5 separate regions of the Homo sapiens genome follow, and all the other regions are linked to region 2. The links are contacts of gene promoters, found by promoter capture Hi-C in blood cells and fetal thymus (Javierre and others, 2016). All regions are on one chromosome and are shown on one strand. Each heading gives the region's core, a stretch centred on a gene start or on the middle of the fragment in contact. The rest is flanking DNA. Distances are from core to core; before and after follow the strand shown.

Evidence for each region. Contacts are between HindIII fragments. The CHiCAGO score rates a contact against its expected background, and 5 or more counts as called.
Region 1: a contact is called between a fragment that was not itself captured here and the fragment with the promoter of MON2-AS1 in region 2, in 1 of 17 cell types (activated CD4 T cells). The highest score is 5.1, in activated CD4 T cells.
Region 3: a fragment that was not itself captured here is called in contact with the fragment with the promoter of MON2-AS1 in region 2 in 5 of 17 cell types (activated CD4 T cells, naive CD8 T cells, non-activated CD4 T cells and 2 more); the score reaches 5.3 in activated CD4 T cells.
Region 4: a contact is called between a fragment that was not itself captured here and the fragment with the promoter of MON2-AS1 in region 2, in 5 of 17 cell types (total B cells, fetal thymus, naive B cells and 2 more). The highest score is 9.6, in total B cells.
Region 5: a contact is called between a fragment that was not itself captured here and the fragment with the promoter of MON2-AS1 in region 2, in 11 of 17 cell types (naive B cells, total CD8 T cells, total B cells and 8 more). The highest score is 18.4, in naive B cells.

The regions. Positions count from the first base shown.
Region 1 is chr12:62,178,985-62,182,429 of GRCh38, reverse strand. All of the region lies in intron 1 of TAFA2 (TAFA chemokine like family member 2), which reads left to right. Among named protein-coding and RNA genes, the nearest start is that of TAFA2, 12 kb to the left of the region's middle. The HindIII fragment of the contact is 1,837 bases long and covers 464-2,300 here.
Region 2 is chr12:62,483,540-62,487,137 of GRCh38, reverse strand. It overlaps MON2-AS1 (MON2 antisense RNA 1), which reads left to right and starts at 2,196. Exons shown (of 2, transcript NR_186172.1): 1 at 2,196-2,369. It overlaps MON2 (MON2 regulator of endosome-to-Golgi trafficking), which reads right to left. Exons shown (of 35, transcript NM_015026.3): 2 at 2,905-2,968. The HindIII fragment of the contact is 7,471 bases long and covers 1-2,688 here.
Region 3 is chr12:62,757,406-62,760,926 of GRCh38, reverse strand. The region is part of intron 4 of PPM1H (protein phosphatase, Mg2+/Mn2+ dependent 1H); the gene reads left to right. Among named protein-coding and RNA genes, the nearest start is that of MIRLET7I, 160 kb to the right of the region's middle. The HindIII fragment of the contact is 7,008 bases long and covers 1-3,521 here.
Region 4 is chr12:62,844,348-62,847,793 of GRCh38, reverse strand. The region is part of intron 1 of PPM1H (protein phosphatase, Mg2+/Mn2+ dependent 1H); the gene reads left to right. All of the region lies in intron 1 of LOC105369795 (a long non-coding RNA gene), which reads right to left. Among named protein-coding and RNA genes, the nearest start is that of PPM1H, 89 kb to the left of the region's middle. The HindIII fragment of the contact is 2,951 bases long and covers 1-2,950 here.
Region 5 is chr12:62,788,100-62,791,629 of GRCh38, reverse strand. It overlaps PPM1H (protein phosphatase, Mg2+/Mn2+ dependent 1H), which reads left to right. Exons shown (of 10, transcript NM_020700.2): 4 at 3,292-3,404. Among named protein-coding and RNA genes, the nearest start is that of PPM1H, 150 kb to the left of the region's middle. The HindIII fragment of the contact is 2,571 bases long and covers 671-3,241 here.

The DNA of each region.
Region 1 (3,445 bases), core at 133-2,632, 300 kb after region 2:
AAGGTGGGAAGCCTTCAACTCTTACCCCTTTGACAGGTTTCTCCCTGTGGCAAGCAGCTCAAACCTGGTCACTGACTCCAAACATTTTTCTCATAGGCTCTTTCATAGGAGCACAGAATTTGTAAGTGTTTTGCTTAGTTTTTTAACCTTCCATTTAGAGAACATATTTTTCCTCCAATACGTAAATTAGAAATTGTTTTTCACATATTAATACAAGTTTGGTTTACATCCTACAGTTTGAAGAGATGTTTATTTCATAACTAAGACATTATATTATATATCAATATATTCTAGTATACAAAGTCAATTTTAGTTCTCCAAATTATTTTTGGAATTTCAATAGTGACTTATTCCTTTTAGGGCTTAGATGTCAAAATTTTGGCCATAATGTCTAGGTTTTTGTTCTACTTGAGTAGCTACTATGTGTAGCGGGGGGGGGATGGACTTGAGAAAAGATGAAGCTTTCCTTGTGTATTTATTGGGCTTACAATTTTAAAATGAATATCTCTTCCTTTTTGTAAATTTTGCCCTGTTAATCTTAAATAACTTTCCATAAGTGATTCCTATAGGATTGAAGACATAATACTTTATGATTTAGGAAGTTTGAACTTCTTATCTTCATATATTAGAAGGATTTTCTCACCCTAAGCCAGTTTGGCTAATGTCAGAAGGTGTCATAGCTAAGGTACGTGACTCTATTCTACTGCTGTCTAGGACCTCATGTCACAAGCTCAGTTCACTGGATGAAATATTTCGTCATCAGTTTTATCAATGCTCTGGAAGTTCTTATGTTTCCTTATGCTGGTGTATTAATTATAAACTGAGATTAGATTTAGACATGTCAGTCTGAGGGAGTGAAGCAATTTGTTTTCTTTCAAGTTGTATGATTAATATAGTTCGTAATAGTCATGCTATTAAATCTTACTCAGTTTTTTTCTTCTAAGTGTTTACAAGTTTCTACTATATAGAATAGCTTTGCTTATAGCAGAGGAATGATATCAATTCATTCCACTGAATCTGTTAGACTGTAAGCTCTGTGAGGCAGACCCATGTATATCTCATTTCTATTGATTCTCAATGTTTAGCATAGTGTCTGGCATCTAATAGGTACTTAATAAACTTAATGGGAAGATGGGATCAGTAGTTACATAGTTACAAATTGATAGAGTGTAGCTTTATATGTTTCTTCAATGCCGAAGGGAGAATTCTGTGAAGAAGTGTCATTTCTAATTATGTGTGTGTGCACACGCGTGTGTGTATGTGAGAGAGAGACTCAGGGGGCGGGGGGCACCAGTTTTTCTGACCTACACCCGAATTAACAAATACATTCTAGGCAAAAGGTCAAGGACAAAAATAAAGTAAGCATGCTGACTGAAATTCTCATTCTTTCCATAATTTATTGTAACCTGGAGACTTAGAGACTACATACACTTGTGATTCTACTGTTGTATAAATTAAATAATATTTGTCAATGTCAAATTTAAGTGTTGTTAATCACATATGGAATATATTTTGATTGCTCTTGTCAGTAACTTGACTCATTCATTAGGGAATTTAAAGCCATTTATTCTTATCTACATAATTACCATTTTTGTAATTTATCATGAACTGGGATTTGCTTTTTTTTTGTTAACTTCAGAAACATTATTGACCATGATACCATTGTTCTTGGCTTCAATGATACTAAATTTTTTTGGCTATTCTAATTCTAAATGCTATTTAGTATAGCTAATATGCTCAGATATTTATTGATTTCATTTTCACCCTTCTGAGTTAAGTAAGGCTTCTAAATTCTTGCCACCATAGAAGATTCCACAAAATTAAAACTCTTTGACTGTACTTGATTATTTAAAAAACACATATGTTTAATAAAACCTGAAAAAGTTCAGTTTATTAGATTATAAAAAAGTTGAATATTTTTTCTTTGCATGTATTTTAAAAGATTATAACTGTATATATTAGCATTGCTACACACTTAGAAACTTTCTCAAAACCCTTGAATATGATGTCTTTAGTCTTTGAAGTATAATATTTTTGGGATTCTCTGATGATTCTCAAGAAAGGCTTTAAATGGAATGAACCTGATTTTTCCTTGTATTGTCCCAAAACACTCAGACTTGTGTAACTAAGCTCTAAGCTCAATCTAATTTTTGAGCTATGGCTACGGTGGTACTTATTGAAAAAGATGTATCTATTCTTCTTCCCCAATGCAATCCCAAATATGAAAATTCGTAAAAAATTCAGGTACTGTATAGTACTGAAAAAAATTTAAAATCAATACATGGAATTGAAATCAAGCTTACTGCACATTGGTGAATTTTACCTTGGAGCAGAGTCCATGTTACACTACTAGGAAAACTGGGTGAGCTATGATTTTCCTTGCTTACTGTCTTTTCCTAGCAGCTGATTACCTAGTCTTTAAGGTGAACTTCAGGGTTTGTAGCTAATATTTTACTTTGCATTTTATGAAATCTGCATCAAGTTCACTGGGCAGATGGTATGGCAGACCGGAGTGAACTGAGAGAAAAAAGCAGACTGAATAACTGGCAGTCAGGGATTGAGAAGGTGGCAGGGTTAGCATTTTGTGGGATATAACGAGGAAGAATTATCAGGTAGGGAGCCAGATGGAGTAAAAGTAAGAGAGAAAAGAAGATCAGAAGGGAAGTTTGTTCTAGATTTCTCTCTAAAAAAAGAGGAAATCCTTGACCTTTGAGAAAAGTAAGAAGTTAGAAAAGAATAAATCCATTGAAATTCTTGGGGAACAAAGAGGTAAAATGGCAATGCACTGAAGTAAGACCATAGAGGAGAGAAAAATGCGTGGAGCCAAACCGAGTGTCCTGCCTCAGTCTTGTAAAACCTCTATTCAGGAACAAGAAATTTCTGTCAAGGTTGTTTATTAAACTAAAAGTCAAAAATAATGAGTTCCAGTTCTGACACTGCCACAGATAGCTATCAGCCCTTGGAAAAAAATTACTGATCATTTTCATCACCAGTTTTCTCTATGGCAAATGAGAGGGTTGGATTTAATGGTTACTTAGATTCTTCCAAGTTCTATAAAGATTTCTCCAAGTTCTATAGAAGCATATAATGCTTCTATTCTGTCACTTGAACACATCTTGGTCATTGTCCTTTCTGTCGACTTCCTCCCTAGAATGTGAAATTCTTGAGGTTGAGGAATGTGTCATAATTCTTCACCTTGTACCACCCAAATCTAACCTTTAATAAGGCATTTAATAAGCGTTTCATTAATTGTATAATTTAAAAATTCTAAATAATTTTTCTCTTTCATTTCCATAAGAAACAACAAAATACATTCCAGAATCATAAATAATAACTATACTTAAATAGTGCTATATTGTTTACAAAACATTTGTATGCAAGTGATTTCTTTTGATATTGTAAAATGGCTGTGAGTTAGAAATGAGTGCGATCCTCAATTTCAGGT
Region 2 (3,598 bases), core at 947-3,446:
ATCAATGCTGACATTACCTGGCATAGCATTCCCACTTATGTCAGCATTCATGACAGCAGTGAAAACAAAGAAAAATAAACATTAAAGGAGGATGCTTAAAAGAAGGGGAGATGTAAAGCAAAGACTTATTCTGAAATATAAATAATATTCCCTTGGAAAATAAATCTAAGAAAACTAAAGTTGACTAGAAATCTATGCCGAGTATCATTAATTAAACTACTTGATCCAAATTAAAAGTTATCATTCTTACAACAAATCTTTATATATTCTGAATATACAGAGACATATGAGATTTCAATATCCAATCTCATTTGAGACTCCTCAATTGTTTGGTATTTTTGACATACATTAGAGCACAAAAGTAGTATAGTCTCCTATAGTCTCAAGTACCATAAAGAAGTAAATACTTCTCATGAAATTTTAAAAAGTTAACTAAAAATTTTTCTCAGTATTAACTGTACTCTTAATTATATAGTTTAGAAACTATATACTGACTAATTTAAACTCTGTTTTGAAGAGCCTCTGATTTTCAAGATGATAGTGGTCTATAAATCTACAACTTTTAGGTATAATTGCTTTAAATACTTCAGAAAAAATACTAGGATAAAGTTTAAGTGCAAATATACCTCCTCAAGTATATGGGCTCTGGATACTACGAAGATTAAAACATGACTATTAATTGTATTTGCACCAGATCTGTTCTAACTTGATTTGAATAATGCAAATTGAATTAAAATGAAATTAACAGCCTGCCTATATATTTAAATCATACCGACTAAGTCAAAATTTTTCTTACTCATCTTAAGAGTAATTTATTAGACATTTTACTTGGGATAGAATGCTGGAATAACAGTGATCCTCTGAGGAAATCAGTCTTTTTTTAAAAAAAGTCTTCCACAAACTATAAAACCAATAAAAATTTGTATTATTGGAGAATAATTAAGGACTTACCACGGTATCAACAATGATATTAGCAACAGTAAATATTTTAAATATTTACAGTGATATTCTAATACGATTGGCCTATGGTAAGTCTCCAACATAAAAATATCCAGGTCATCATTTTTCTTTAAACACCAATTTCCCCACAGTAGCTAATCTGCCTAATGTACATCTCCCATTAAAACCCACATGCTGGCCGGGCGCAGTGGCTCACGCCTGTAATCCCAACACTTGGAGAGGCCGAGGCGGGAGAACCCCGAGGTCAGGAGTTCGAGACCAGCCTAGCCAACATGATGAAACCCTGTCTCTACTAAAAATACAAAAATTAGCCAGATGTGGTGTTGGGCACCTGAAATCTCAGCTACTCGGGTGGCTGAGGCAGGAGAATCGCTTGAACCCAGGAGGCAGAGGTTGCAGTAAGCCGAGACCACACCATTGCACTCCAGCTGGGATAACAAGAGCAAAAGTCCATCTCAGGAAAAACAAACAGACAAACAAAAAAAACCCACTTGCCAGCCTTCCTAACCCTACCATGTGCACCTCTGCCTTTACCCACCACTTTCACTATACCACTTCTCAATATGCACACAGAGCATTATTTACTTCTGTGCATAATGTTATAAAACTATTGGGTGTTTTGATAAGACTGTTCAAAATCAGGGAAAAAGCTGTGGGAAACAGATGTAATTGAGGAGCGCTTATGCTAAGGGCAAATTTCCAGCAAAGCTGGATAGCCTAAGTGAAATCCACTCTTGCCCCCGATCCTTAATCTGACCCCAAAAATCTTAATTTCATTTCATAACACTCTGAAATCCCACCAGTTACAGATTTACTGGTATCCCTTTTAAAAAATGTAAAGTATATGAAAGTTAAAGAGATTATTTACTATTTGGACTCTGTAAATTAATTTAATAGGACTACTTTCCTCATAGATTAGCTGAGATCAACAGCACTACTGGAACTGGAAATGCAGATTAAAGGATCACTGAAGCAAGCACTGGTTACATATGTAATACTTGGGAGTAAGTGGCTAACGTGGAAACCTGGTGATACCATGGTAGCACACTGTAGCAGGAAGAACATGGGCTCCTGAACACTCCTGGATTTTAATCTGGTTCTATCACCTTTCCTGTGACCTTGGGCAAGTAACTTAACCTCTTCACATCTCAATTAGCTCTACTATCAAATAAGATAATATTTCCCCACAAGGTTGTTATGTAAGATAGAATGACACAAGTGCCTTGCATATAACAGATTCTTAAAAAAAAAAAAAAAAAAAAGCCAGTTTACCTCTTTTCCATGTTCATTATTGAGGCAAGAACAAAAGGCACCAAGGAAGAGAAAGGAGTGGACTGGGTAGAAAAGAAGGATGCCAAAGAGAAACTCCTGAAAATTCCTCCTTGAAAATCAGGTTCAATCAAGAGAAGGTAAGAAAACATTTTTGTTTTCTTTTCTCTACTTCACTCTCATTCTTTTTTCATGATCATACTGCCTTAATCCCAAGACTCAAAATTCATACGGTACAACTAAATACAGAAGACTATGTTATGAACTGTTCGTATTATATTAAAGAGAAAGTAGATCACAGAAGGTGGACTGAGAACAAATCTTTCATTCAATACAATGGAACAAATATTACTGAATGCTTTTTATGGTGTGTCTCAGGTGATTAGCAGGAAGTGGAGGAGAATGCGAAGATGAGTAAGAAAAAATTCCTTGCCTTTAAGGAGTCAGTAGTGTTAAGCTTTCTGATTTCAGAGAATTTTTGTAGCATTCGTCTCTGGGAAATACAGTCAGTTCATAAGTTATGGACTTTTGCCCATTCTGTTTCATTATGAATAGCATATGTTAGGGCATGAGGAAGAGATGTTACAGAAAACTGATGGCTTTTACAATAAAGATTCTACTTTTACTATTAGTCAAATTTTTGTTTATTATTAAATTTTTAATACAAAAAATTACCTGCCAAAATTTCAGTGTTTCGTGCAGCAATTGTTTTAACTTTTATTATTCCTGATTCAGCAGCCTGCAAGAATAAAAATAATTAGAACACAAAATTTACTGCCAAAATGAATTATCTATGGAAAATAAGTCATATGTGATAGACAAAATATCAAGCACAAAGTCAGTCACTACCCTACCACCTTTTTAATTTTCAAACCATCAGATACTAAGCCCAGTAGTGACATATACGTTAAATGTAATAAAACATGATTAATTTGATTATTCACATGCAAACTCTGAATGCACTACAACATGTTGCCTTCCTCTGCCTTAAGGCATTATCTGGAATACCTCAATCCCCTGCAAAGTTAAATTTTCCGAGAATAAAAATAACAAACAAAAACAAAATCTACTGAAAATAATTAGGCTCCTTTTCCCCATTTCAAGCCTCCTCTCTCTCCACCACACACAAAAAAATTATAGAACACTGCAAAATCAAGTAAAACTACTGTGTTGGATTTATTTATTTATTGTTGATGGAGTTTTTTGCTCTTGTTGCCCAGGCTGGAGTCCAATGGCACGATCTTGGCTCACTACAACCTCCGCCTCCCTGGTTCAAGCCATTCTCCTGCCTCAGCCTCCCAAGTAGCTGGGATTACAGGCACCCACCACCATGCCTGGCTAATTTTTGTATTTTTAGTAGAGTGTTTTA
Region 3 (3,521 bases), core at 754-3,253, 270 kb before region 2:
TAAGGTTTTTCCCGGAGCAGAGTATGACTGGTGTGTGGTTAGAATGTAATCTTTAACCTGGGACTCAGTGCTTACCCTTCAGAGCTAGTCTAGGTCATTTGGCCATTTACTCACCTTTTATAGGAAAAGTTATTTTTCTTTAGTCATTCTGGGAATTGGCCTAACTATTAGGATGACATTTAAGTCGCTCCAGGTTAAATTGTAGGACAGAGTTAGATATTGGAATTCCTGTATATATTTAGTGGGGTCTGATGAGAAAGAGCCTAAACACTGGCTGATTTGGGAAAGGTCTGATAGAGAAAAAGGCACATGTACCCTGACTATGCCTTCAGCTCCAGCCACCTCTCTAAGCGGAAATTGTTGAGCAGGTGGGGGAGAGCTAGTTGCAGAATGAAACTGTAAACCAGACTGGGTGTGAGGGGAGGTAATAGAAGGGTTATAGGGTGGGGGAGCAGAGGCTGAAGAAGAGTTGGAGCCTGATTCAACCTGGCAGGGAGCGACCGGAGGAGGAGCAGCCTGGGGAGGAGGTGAGAGGTCAGATGGGTTAGTAGAAAGGGAAGATTCACAAGACTCAGTGACACTTGGGGTTGGGACTGAAGGGACAGGTGGGAGGGAAAGAAGAAAGATTTGGGACGAGTCTCACTGGGAGCAGAGACTAGGGAGGAACCAATGTGTAAAAGAATGCCTGGACGTCAGGCACCTCAGACCATTTGCCCATTTTTCGACAAAAATTATCTAGATCTTGTAAAACAGAGAAATCAAAAGTGCCATTTTCTGGCTATTTAGAACCATTGTCGAGTTTGTACTGGGGCCAAACAGTATTGCAGAAGAAAATAAGATGCTTAGATTTTAGGTCAGGCTAGAGTTGAAGAGGTTTTAAGTTCTTGAGAACACAGGCTAAGGGAGAAGAAGGAAGAATGGAGGGTGGAAGGTTGCCCATAGTGAAGGAGGCAAGTTTAAAGAGAAGGGTAGAGACATGGAGAGAAGGGATGGGGGGTGCTTGCCCCCCAGGAAAGTGAAGAAGGGGTGAGAGGTGCTTGCCCCCCAGGAAAGTGGAAACAGGGTGGGAGATGCTTGCCCCCCAGGAAAGTGGAAACAGGGTGGGAGGTGCTTGCCCCCCAGGAAAGTGGAAATGGGGTGGGAGGTGCTTACCCCCCAGGAAAGTGGAAAAGGAGTGGGAGGTGCTTGCCCCCCAGGAAAGTGGAGAAGGGGTAGAGACACGGAGAGAAGGAGTCAGGGGTGCTTGCCCCCCAGAAAAGCGGTGCTTGCTGCTAAGGGTGAAAGACCAAGGCAGGCATCCCCGAGTGGTCAGACACCTCTGAAACGTGGGTGAATAATCAGGCAGGCGTCCCCGCAATGATTAATCACCAAGGGAAGGCTGTCTTCCCGAGTCCGTGACCAGTGCCAGAATTTTGGGTCCACGGATAAAATGTGTCTCCTTTGTCTCTACCAGATAATGAAAGGAATTGAACTTAAGAGAAGGGAGAGATTGAAGGGTGGTGCCAAGATTGAAAGGAGAAAGAGGTTGAGGGATAGTGAGAGAGGTTGGAGAAGAGAGTAAAAATAGACCGCTTACCCGATTTAAAATCAGTGAGATGTTCATTGGGCTGGTTGGTCTGAGGACCTGATGTCATAGGTGGATCTCTTCATGGAGTGAGAGTGAGGTGAGGACAGGGGACTGGTCTCCCGAAGGAGTCCCACTTACCCGAGTCTTCGGCACCAAATGTCTCACGTGTTCGTGTGAAGAGACCACCAAACAGGCTTTGTGTGAGCAACATGGCTGTTTATTTCACCTGGGTGCAGGCGGGCTGAGTCCAAAAAGAGAGTCAGCAAAGGGTGGTGGATTATCGTTAGTTCTTAAAGGTTTTGGGATAGGCAGTGGAGTTAGGAGCAATGTTTTGCGGGCAGTGGGTGGATCTCACAAAGTATATTCTCAAGGGTAGGGAGAATTACAAAGAACCTTCTTAAGGGTGGGGGAGATTACAAAGTACATTGATCGGTTAGGGTGGGGCAGAAACAAATCACAATGGTGGAATGTCATCAGTTAAGGCTATTTTCACTTCTTTTGTGGATCTTCAGTTGCTTCAGGCCATCTGGATGTAAAAGTGCAGGTCACAGGGAATATGATGGCTTAGCTTGGGCTCAGAGGCCTGACACTAACCACCACAGCATTTCATGGAGAAAAGAAATTCTCTTAGCTCTCAGATAGTTCCTGTCTAGGTGACACCTGTCTTGGGTTAGATGCTCCTTTTTTTTCCTCCACAGTTGGAAGGTTTAAATAAAATGTAGCCAGTGTGGAGAGTGAGATGATTGCAATTATGGAGGCAGAAGGATAAGAAGTTTGAAGTTTAGGCAAAGCACATGTCCCACCACCAAGATAAAACAAACAGTGATTCAGTCAAGAATCTGAGTTTTGGCTTAATTTCTCATGCATGTGCATTGTAGGTCATCTTTAAATTTATTTGACTTGTGAAAACAATTTTAACTACAAATAAACACACAAAGCAGTATAAATATGGAAACCCCACACAGGCAGGGACCTCCCTTTGGTGAGAACGCTATAGGCATAGATGAATCATGCTGAGATAGTTTGCATCTGTGAGGTTCATGTGAACTTTGAGGCCACCAGACCTCAAGGCAAAAATAAATACCCTTCAAAGACTTTGTAGCTTCCAAGAATTATTCATGTGGAAACCAAATGAAGATGTTGATTTCCAAGAAAGAGATCTCACAACTACAATGGATGACTGAGTGATTCCAGCCAAACACAAGAAAGTATTAACTTTTTAAATCTATTATTGAAGGAAAGTAATTGTAATTATGGTACATTACTTTAGGGTTCTGGGGTAGTTTTAAGCACTTAGCTTTAAGCACTCCAGTTTAGCCTTTTGAACAGCAAATTCATGTTTCAAATTACAATGACTGTCTCTATTACTGCGCTTTCTAATTCCTTCTAAACCTCACTCCTAAATTGCACCAGGCTGGAGCCATAAAGGGTTGCATGTGGGAAGCCTCCATCTGCTTTTCTTCTTTGAGAGGTGGTTGTGAATGAGACCAGCCAATGGGAATAAGATAATAATTGTGTTCTAAGAGCCTCTTGTTCTGTGGAGTGTGTGACTTACTGACTGATGCTAAACATTTGAAATTGTAAATTTGGATAAGTCCATAGAAATTGGGACACAGAAACATGGGTCTTAAATGATAGAGCTGCTTCCGAGTGTTTTCTGGAGTGGTGTTATGGTAGGAAGTGCCTTTCAATAATTCTATTGTAAAGACAACCTTACAACTTGAAACTTGCCCCAAGAAAGACACTTGAAAATAGTAGATCTATGATGGTACATTTCTGGTGAATTTACTAGAGTGTGTTTTCTTCTAGTGAATTTATCTCTTCATTGATTTTATTCATTCCTGTGATCTAAGGGTGAACTGGTCTATTTTCATTTTACAGTTTGAGAAAGAAGTTAAACCCTAAGCAACTATAATAGTTTCTCTAGAACTTAAAATATTTTTTACACACCTGA
Region 4 (3,446 bases), core at 226-2,725, 360 kb before region 2:
CAGTAATAGTTATCTATGTAAGTTTAACAGCTTTTTTTTTGAATCCTTAAAATAAACTTTGATTTACTCAATTGATAATAAATCAAAGATATTCAGAAGATTAAATATGCCTGATCAGTGGCTGTCAGATGTTTACCTCACTGGCTTGCTCTGGTCATAACTGGCAAAAATTTGCTACTTCTTGTTGTCTTTTACCTCTTAGCACAGGATGTTAGGTAGAGATCCTTGAGCTTGTGATATAAATTTTAACCCTGAATTATAATTTCTCCCCTGAAGTCAACAAACCTTTCATTTAGTAGGTACTTGACTGCCTGCAGTATATCAGGCACTATGCTAATCTCTGAGAATACAGAATTAAATAAGTTTCTACCCCTACCTTCACGGCCCTTGCAGTTTAATAATGATAGTATAGTGAGGGTGTATTGAGAGTTGGGTCTTGCTATACTCTAGCTTGCAATTGACAGCCATTCAAGGGAAATTTATTAGAGAATATTGGGGTTACCCAGATATTCCAAAGACAAATGGGTCTTGGGAACACCTAGAACTAGGGACTCTGTTGAGATTCTATTTCCAACATGTACTCTTCTCACAAATATGTACTCTTCTCCTCTTTGTCTCTCCCTCTCTTCCCCTTCTTGCCTTCTGCTGCCTTTTTCTTTCTTTCATTTTTCACAGAAGGGCCCTAATTGGCTCAGCTCAGAGATCAGGTGGCCATCCCTAAACCAGTCACCTCTGGCCATGGAAAAACCATATGAATGGGACGGAGGAGGGTGGGAAGGAAAGATGATGTCTAGGAGAAAGGGAGTCTGGGCAGATAAAAACATCTCTGACAGGTATATGCACTTTACATTTATGCATTCTCTTAGTCCACACAGTAGCCCATTAACCTCCCCAAGACACACAACTAGCCAGTGGCAGAGCTAGGATACCAATCCAAGTTTCTGGTGATTTCCATACTATGAGCACTGTGCTACTTACTGGTTACACTGCAGTCTTTAAGAACAATAAAGTGCATGCAAAATAGCCTTAACAAACTGAATACTGAAGGACAAGGGATGTTTGTCAGACAAGAGGAGGTTAGGTCATTGCAGGGGGTGGAAAAGGCATGTGAGAAGGAATCGTGGTATGTAGCAACTGGGTGCTTTTTGTAAACCACAAACTGTTTATTATGGCTAAGGATGAGGGGGTGCGAGGAGACCAGATGGGGGAAGCTGAGGATATTCAGAGGGCCCGTCAGGAAGACACTGATATGGTAAGCTAAAAAGTTAAAAAAAAAAAAAATTTTTTTTTTTTTGAGGCGGAATCTCGCTCTGTTGCCCAGGCTGGAGTGCAGTGGCGCAATCTCGGCTCACTGCAACCTCCGCCTCCTGGGTTCAAGAGATTCTCCTGTCTCAGCCTCCTTAGTAGCTGGGACTACAGGTGCCTGCCACCATGCCCAGCTAATTTTTGTATTTTTTTTAGTACCGATGGTTTTGCCATGTTGGCTAGGCTGGTCTCGAACTCCTTACCTCAGATGATCCGCCTGCCTTGGCCTCCCAAAGTGCTGGGATTACAGGCGTGAGCCACCGCACCTGGCCCAAAAGTTTAAATTTTATCCTGAAATCTTCAGAGCCCATTTGGAGATATTTGAGCATGGGAGAGACATGGCCACATTCACGGTTGAGAAAGGTCAGTCCGGGCCTGCTGTGCAGGATTTACTAAGAAGAGACGACAGGTTAGGAGGTTTAAATATTGGTGCCTGCTGGATGTGACAAGGGCCTGGACAAGGCATGGAAATGGGGATGTAAGTCATAGTTATGACTTAGCCCCGCAGGCTGAGAAGCTAGATGTGGGGAGAGTAGTAAGCTGGGAGGACAAGGATGCTCCTTGGAATTCTTTGTCCACTAAGACAAAGAACACCAGAAGGAGGATTGTATTTGAGACAGGAAGGAGACAGCAGAAGGAAGGAGAAATGAATATAGGGTTGGGCAGCTTGCATGTTGTGCAACATGCAAAGGCAGATATTCTACAGGTATTTGGAAACACAGGCCAGGCACCCCCAGAGATCTGTACTGTAGATATGATTTTGGCAGTGCTTAGTGTTTGGATCTTAAATGAAGCCTTGGGAATAGAGACGATCTCCCAGGGAAAGTTGTCTGGGGAGGAAGAACAGCAAGCCACATTTGCAGCCCCAAGGAACAGCAGCACTTGAGGTTCCCTTGTACACCCGTATTAAAGGTCTAGTTGGGGATAGGAAGTCAAGTCAATGAAATTTCCATTTTTACAAGACTTTCCATACCTCATATATGGTCTACCAGGTGTCAGAGAATTGCCTCAGCAAGAAGTACCACTCCCCTTTTCTAAAACTATGTTCCATGTAAATTTTAGCTCTGAAAGAAGTATAGATTTTGTATTAACTACAGATGGAGGCAAGAAGAGGATGGAGGTATAGGCTCAACAGTTAGAAAAGAAGCCTTAGGAACTTCCCATTCCATGCAGAGATCCTCAGAGTATCCCTGGGAGGTCATAAGCCAGCTTTTGGACATTTCCAGTGAAGGGAATTCTACTTTTTGAGGTAACTCATTGCATGGCTGGGTAGCTTCAAACCGATAGTGTCAGAATTATCTTTCTGCTACTTCCAGGTCCTGTTTAGACCTTTGGAATTTCCCTCCTTTGCAGTAGTCTTTTGATGTTGTAAAAGAGCCATCCTGGCCCTCCAGGGCCTTCTTGGTCGGCTCTAACTGTTAATAGGGTGAGAACTTATTTATAAGGCAGAAGCCAGAGGTGGAATTTGGATGAAGAGGTACCCTAGGCTCTGACATCTATCAGCTACTTCTTTGCTGGAGAATGTTTAGGGGTCACTTTAACATATCCTACTCCCAAGCTCATTTCCTAGTAGAAGTGCTTATAATTAATTTTTTTCTATGGAATGCAGAAATCAAATGAGGAGAAACTCCAAATATTGTAAGCTTTAAGAAATATATAGGCAGGCTTAGAACACCGTCATTATTCTAGTCTCTCTCCCATGGGGTGTTATGGCAAAATGAGTTCATTTGTTTATTCATTCAATTAACATTTATCGAGTACCTACTCCGTGCTATGTGATTTGAGATAGGGAGAACACAACTGAAATAAACACACAACATTTTGGAACACATCTACCCTTGACTAATTGAAATATATTGGTAGTCCACCTTGTCCTTTTTATTTAAGGATGGTATTAAGCATCTAATTTAAAATCGCTTACATTCAGCGCATTTGTCTCCTTCAAAGTGTGAAATTAAATAATCCAAACTTAAAGCTGTTGGAACTTTAAGTTATCTTGAGCCTTGAGGGGAATGTGGCTACGTAGCCTGAATCATGTAGCATGCAGTTGCTATTTCTGCTTTTTCCTATAAATGATTAGCAATGAAGAAGCAGCATCAGAGATAAGACGCCCCCCTTGCCCCTCAGAACATTATTTCTCC
Region 5 (3,530 bases), core at 707-3,206, 300 kb before region 2:
AATTTTTAATAAATATTGTCTTTCAGCCTTTTAGGTATTCAAGCAAATATTGATTCTGACAGTGAAAAAATAGTCTCTGTAGCTGAGCAGTTCCTTTTGATGTATTGGATGCAGACTCTTTATCAACTTATATAATTCAGTAAAATATGTATCTATCATAGTATCAACTTTATATGCGTTCTTTAAATGCAAAAAAAGTAGCAATTCCATCCACAAACCCCTTAGTAGGGTTTGGGGTTCTGTTTTTATGGGTTTTCTTGGAGGTTAAACAGGCATCTTGATGTTTTCCTTCTCCTCTCTTCTATTTGCTTGAGATAATTCTTCCCACCTGACACCCGTGCCCCTCCTCCTCATCCTCCAGCCTTCTACCAGTCTTGTGTAGGTTCTGATAACCATTCTTGGCAGTCAAGCATTTTAATTGAAGCATGGGTTTCTGCTTAATTATTATCTCAGCGAGCGTTGGCATTGTAAGCTTTTCATTTGTGAATTGTGGAATCCATTTTTCATATTAAGGCAGAGGTAAGGGGAGAGGCAGATAAAAAAAATTTAAAATTTATTTCTTCATTTGTCCATTGAACAGATATTTATTAAACTACCATTTACCTGGCCTAACCTAGGTGTTGAGGGTCTAAGATGAGCAAGAAAGGCCACCGCTCTCAATGTTGAAGCTTCTGGGCTGCGGGAAGGGTCCAGATATCCTACTAAGCCCCTCACACATGCCAGCTAATTTAGCCTTACGACAGTCCTTTAAGAAAGCTAATTTATACACAGTTGAAGTAAATGTTAAAAATCCCACATAGTCCTTTGAAGTTTGCCCCATGCTTGATGCTTCTGCAGCTTTTGCTGCTGCTGTTCACTCCCATATTGAAGTGTTTCCTCACTTGTTTATAAACCACTACATCCCCCAACACATATTCCTACCTCCTCCCCGTGGCTCTCCAGTTCCCCTCCCGCAATCTCTTACCCAGCTCTCTCCCAGTGTGTTGGTCTCTCCCAAGTCCTGGCTTTGTGTTTTTTCTCTATTTACTGGTTTTTGTTGTTATTTTGTTTTTGTTTTTGAGACAGGGTCTCGCTCTGTCACCCCGGCTAAAGCACAGTGGCATGATCATGGCTTACTGCAGCCTCGAACTCCTGGGCTCAAGAGATCCTCTGTCCTCAGCCTCCCAAGTAGCTAAGACTACAGGCATGTGCCACCACACCCAGCTAATTATTTTTTATAGAGATGGGGGTATCACTATGTTGCCCAGGCTGGTCTTGAACTCCTAGCCTCAAGTGACCTCCTGTCTCTGCCTCCCAAAGTATTGGAATTACAGGCGTTAGCCACCGTGCCTGGCTTCCATTTGCTCTTTAACCAATATGATATCCCTAAGCTCAAGCTCTTCTGTTTCCAGTTTCCCATTGGTGATTTACCCTTTTTATGTTACCATCTCTGGCCCCTAGAGCAAAGCAGTTGCTGGTAAATGCTGGGGTCTTGACTTCTCTCCCCCTTTTCCATGAGGAGTCTGGTTGAAGCAGCTGAGCTCTAACTCTGTGGGATTCTCAGGATTACAATAGTGGCCTGACCCTAGATCTGCCAACAACAGCATCAACGTCACCGTTTCTTCCTCTTCCTGTAATTTTTAGCCAGCCCTCATTTTCCTTCCCTCTGCACCAAAAGTAGTAGATTACCACTGGAAGATTTGGCATTATTTTAGCCAGGCATTCAATGTATCTTACTAACACAGATTTTTCTGAGGTAACAGAACCTTTGCTTCTATCGCTAACACAGAATTTCACAGGTATCTGTCTTGATGATGCCAGTGTTGGTCTATTTTTAATATCAATTCCTTGGGGAGGCCTCATTAGGTGGCAGGTAACAACACAAACTTTGGAAGAGAAGCAGGTTGGAATCCAGACTCTAGCCAGGTAAATATGGGCAGGCTACCCCACTTCTCTGCAACTAAACAATGAGGTTCATAGTGATGGTCTTGAGGACGATATGAGAGTTTGAGTATAAAGTGCTCAGCACACTACGTGACGTAGAGAAAGTTCTCAATGAATGTTTCTAATTATTATAAACGTTTTACCATTGTAAATTGGTGGCTGTGGGAAGAGGAAAAGTCAGGTCAGAGTTCAGAAGCCCTATAAGTCATTTGAAGTCATTTAAGTCATTATAAGTCATTTATAATTTATTTAAGTCATTTTAAGTCATTTATAAGTCATTGTAAGTCTTTGCCCTATAAGTCATGGCTTGACTCCTGCCTGTGTTGAATAGAAGACATCTTTCTGTAATTTATCTGTAAAAGAGACTATTTATCCAAGACTTTGGAGTTTAAAACATTGATCATATCTGGGCTGGGTATGGTGGCCCAGTGCTTTGGGAGGCTGAGACAGGATTGTTTGAGGCCAAGAGTTTGAGACCAGCCTGGGCAACATAGTGAGACCCTGTCCCCACAAAAAATGGAGGAGTTAGCTGGGTGTGGTGGCTGCACAGACCTGTAGTCCCAGCTACTCAGGAGGCTAAGGCAGGAGGCTTGAGCCCAGGAGGTCAAGGCTGCAGTGAGCTATGATCATACCACTGCACTCCAGCCTGGGTGACAGAGCAAACCTTCTCTAAAAAGACAAGGCTGGGCGCAGTGGCTCATGCCTGTAATCCCAGCACTTTGGGAGGCCGAGGCAGGCAGATTGCTTCAGCACAGGAGTTCGAGACCAGCCTGGACAATGTGGCAAGACCCCATCTCTACAAAAAATACAAAAATTAGCCGGGCATGGTGGTGCGCACCTGTGGTCCCAGGTACTCGGAAGGCTGAGGTGGGAGGATTGCTTGAGCCTGGGAAGCACAGGTTGCAGTGAGCCAAGATTGGGCCACTGCACTCTAGCCTGGGTGACAGAGCCAGATCCTGTCTTCAAAAAACAAACAAAACATTGATCAGGTCCAAGTACTTGTCATCCTCAGCCTCTCTAGTGTATGTTTCACATGGTAGCTCATGCAATCCACAAAGACTAAATTTTCCATAAGCTGTGATATTTACTGAATACAACTTACATTTTATTTGCATTTTTGTCTGATTGTTTCTGTTTGCTGTCTATTGTTTCCTGTCTCTGGTTCACAGATGGTCTAATATGTGGCAGTTTTATGCCAGTGTCCTCTCCAGAAATGCTCATCAGGTGGTAGGAAAGCAAGCACTAAAGATTTTTCTAGTCCCTTCTTGAAGCACATTCAGAGTCTGGGGACTGTCAAGAGAATGAAAGTGAGAAAGCTTTTGCTACACATCCTGCACAATCCAACACTAACTCTGTTTTATTCTCCAGGACCTACAGATAGAACGAGAGAGGAGTTCATATAATATATCTGGTGGCTGCACGGCCCTCATTGTGATTTGCCTTTTGGGGAAGCTGTATGTTGCAAATGCTGGGGATAGCAGGTAAGCAGATGAGCTGTCTGATTCTTGCTAATTTCTAATGCCTTCTGATGTTTTTATTTTGTCTCAAAAATTAAATGATTAGAAATAATTAAAGACAGGCCTTCTACATCAGAATGAAAATGCATT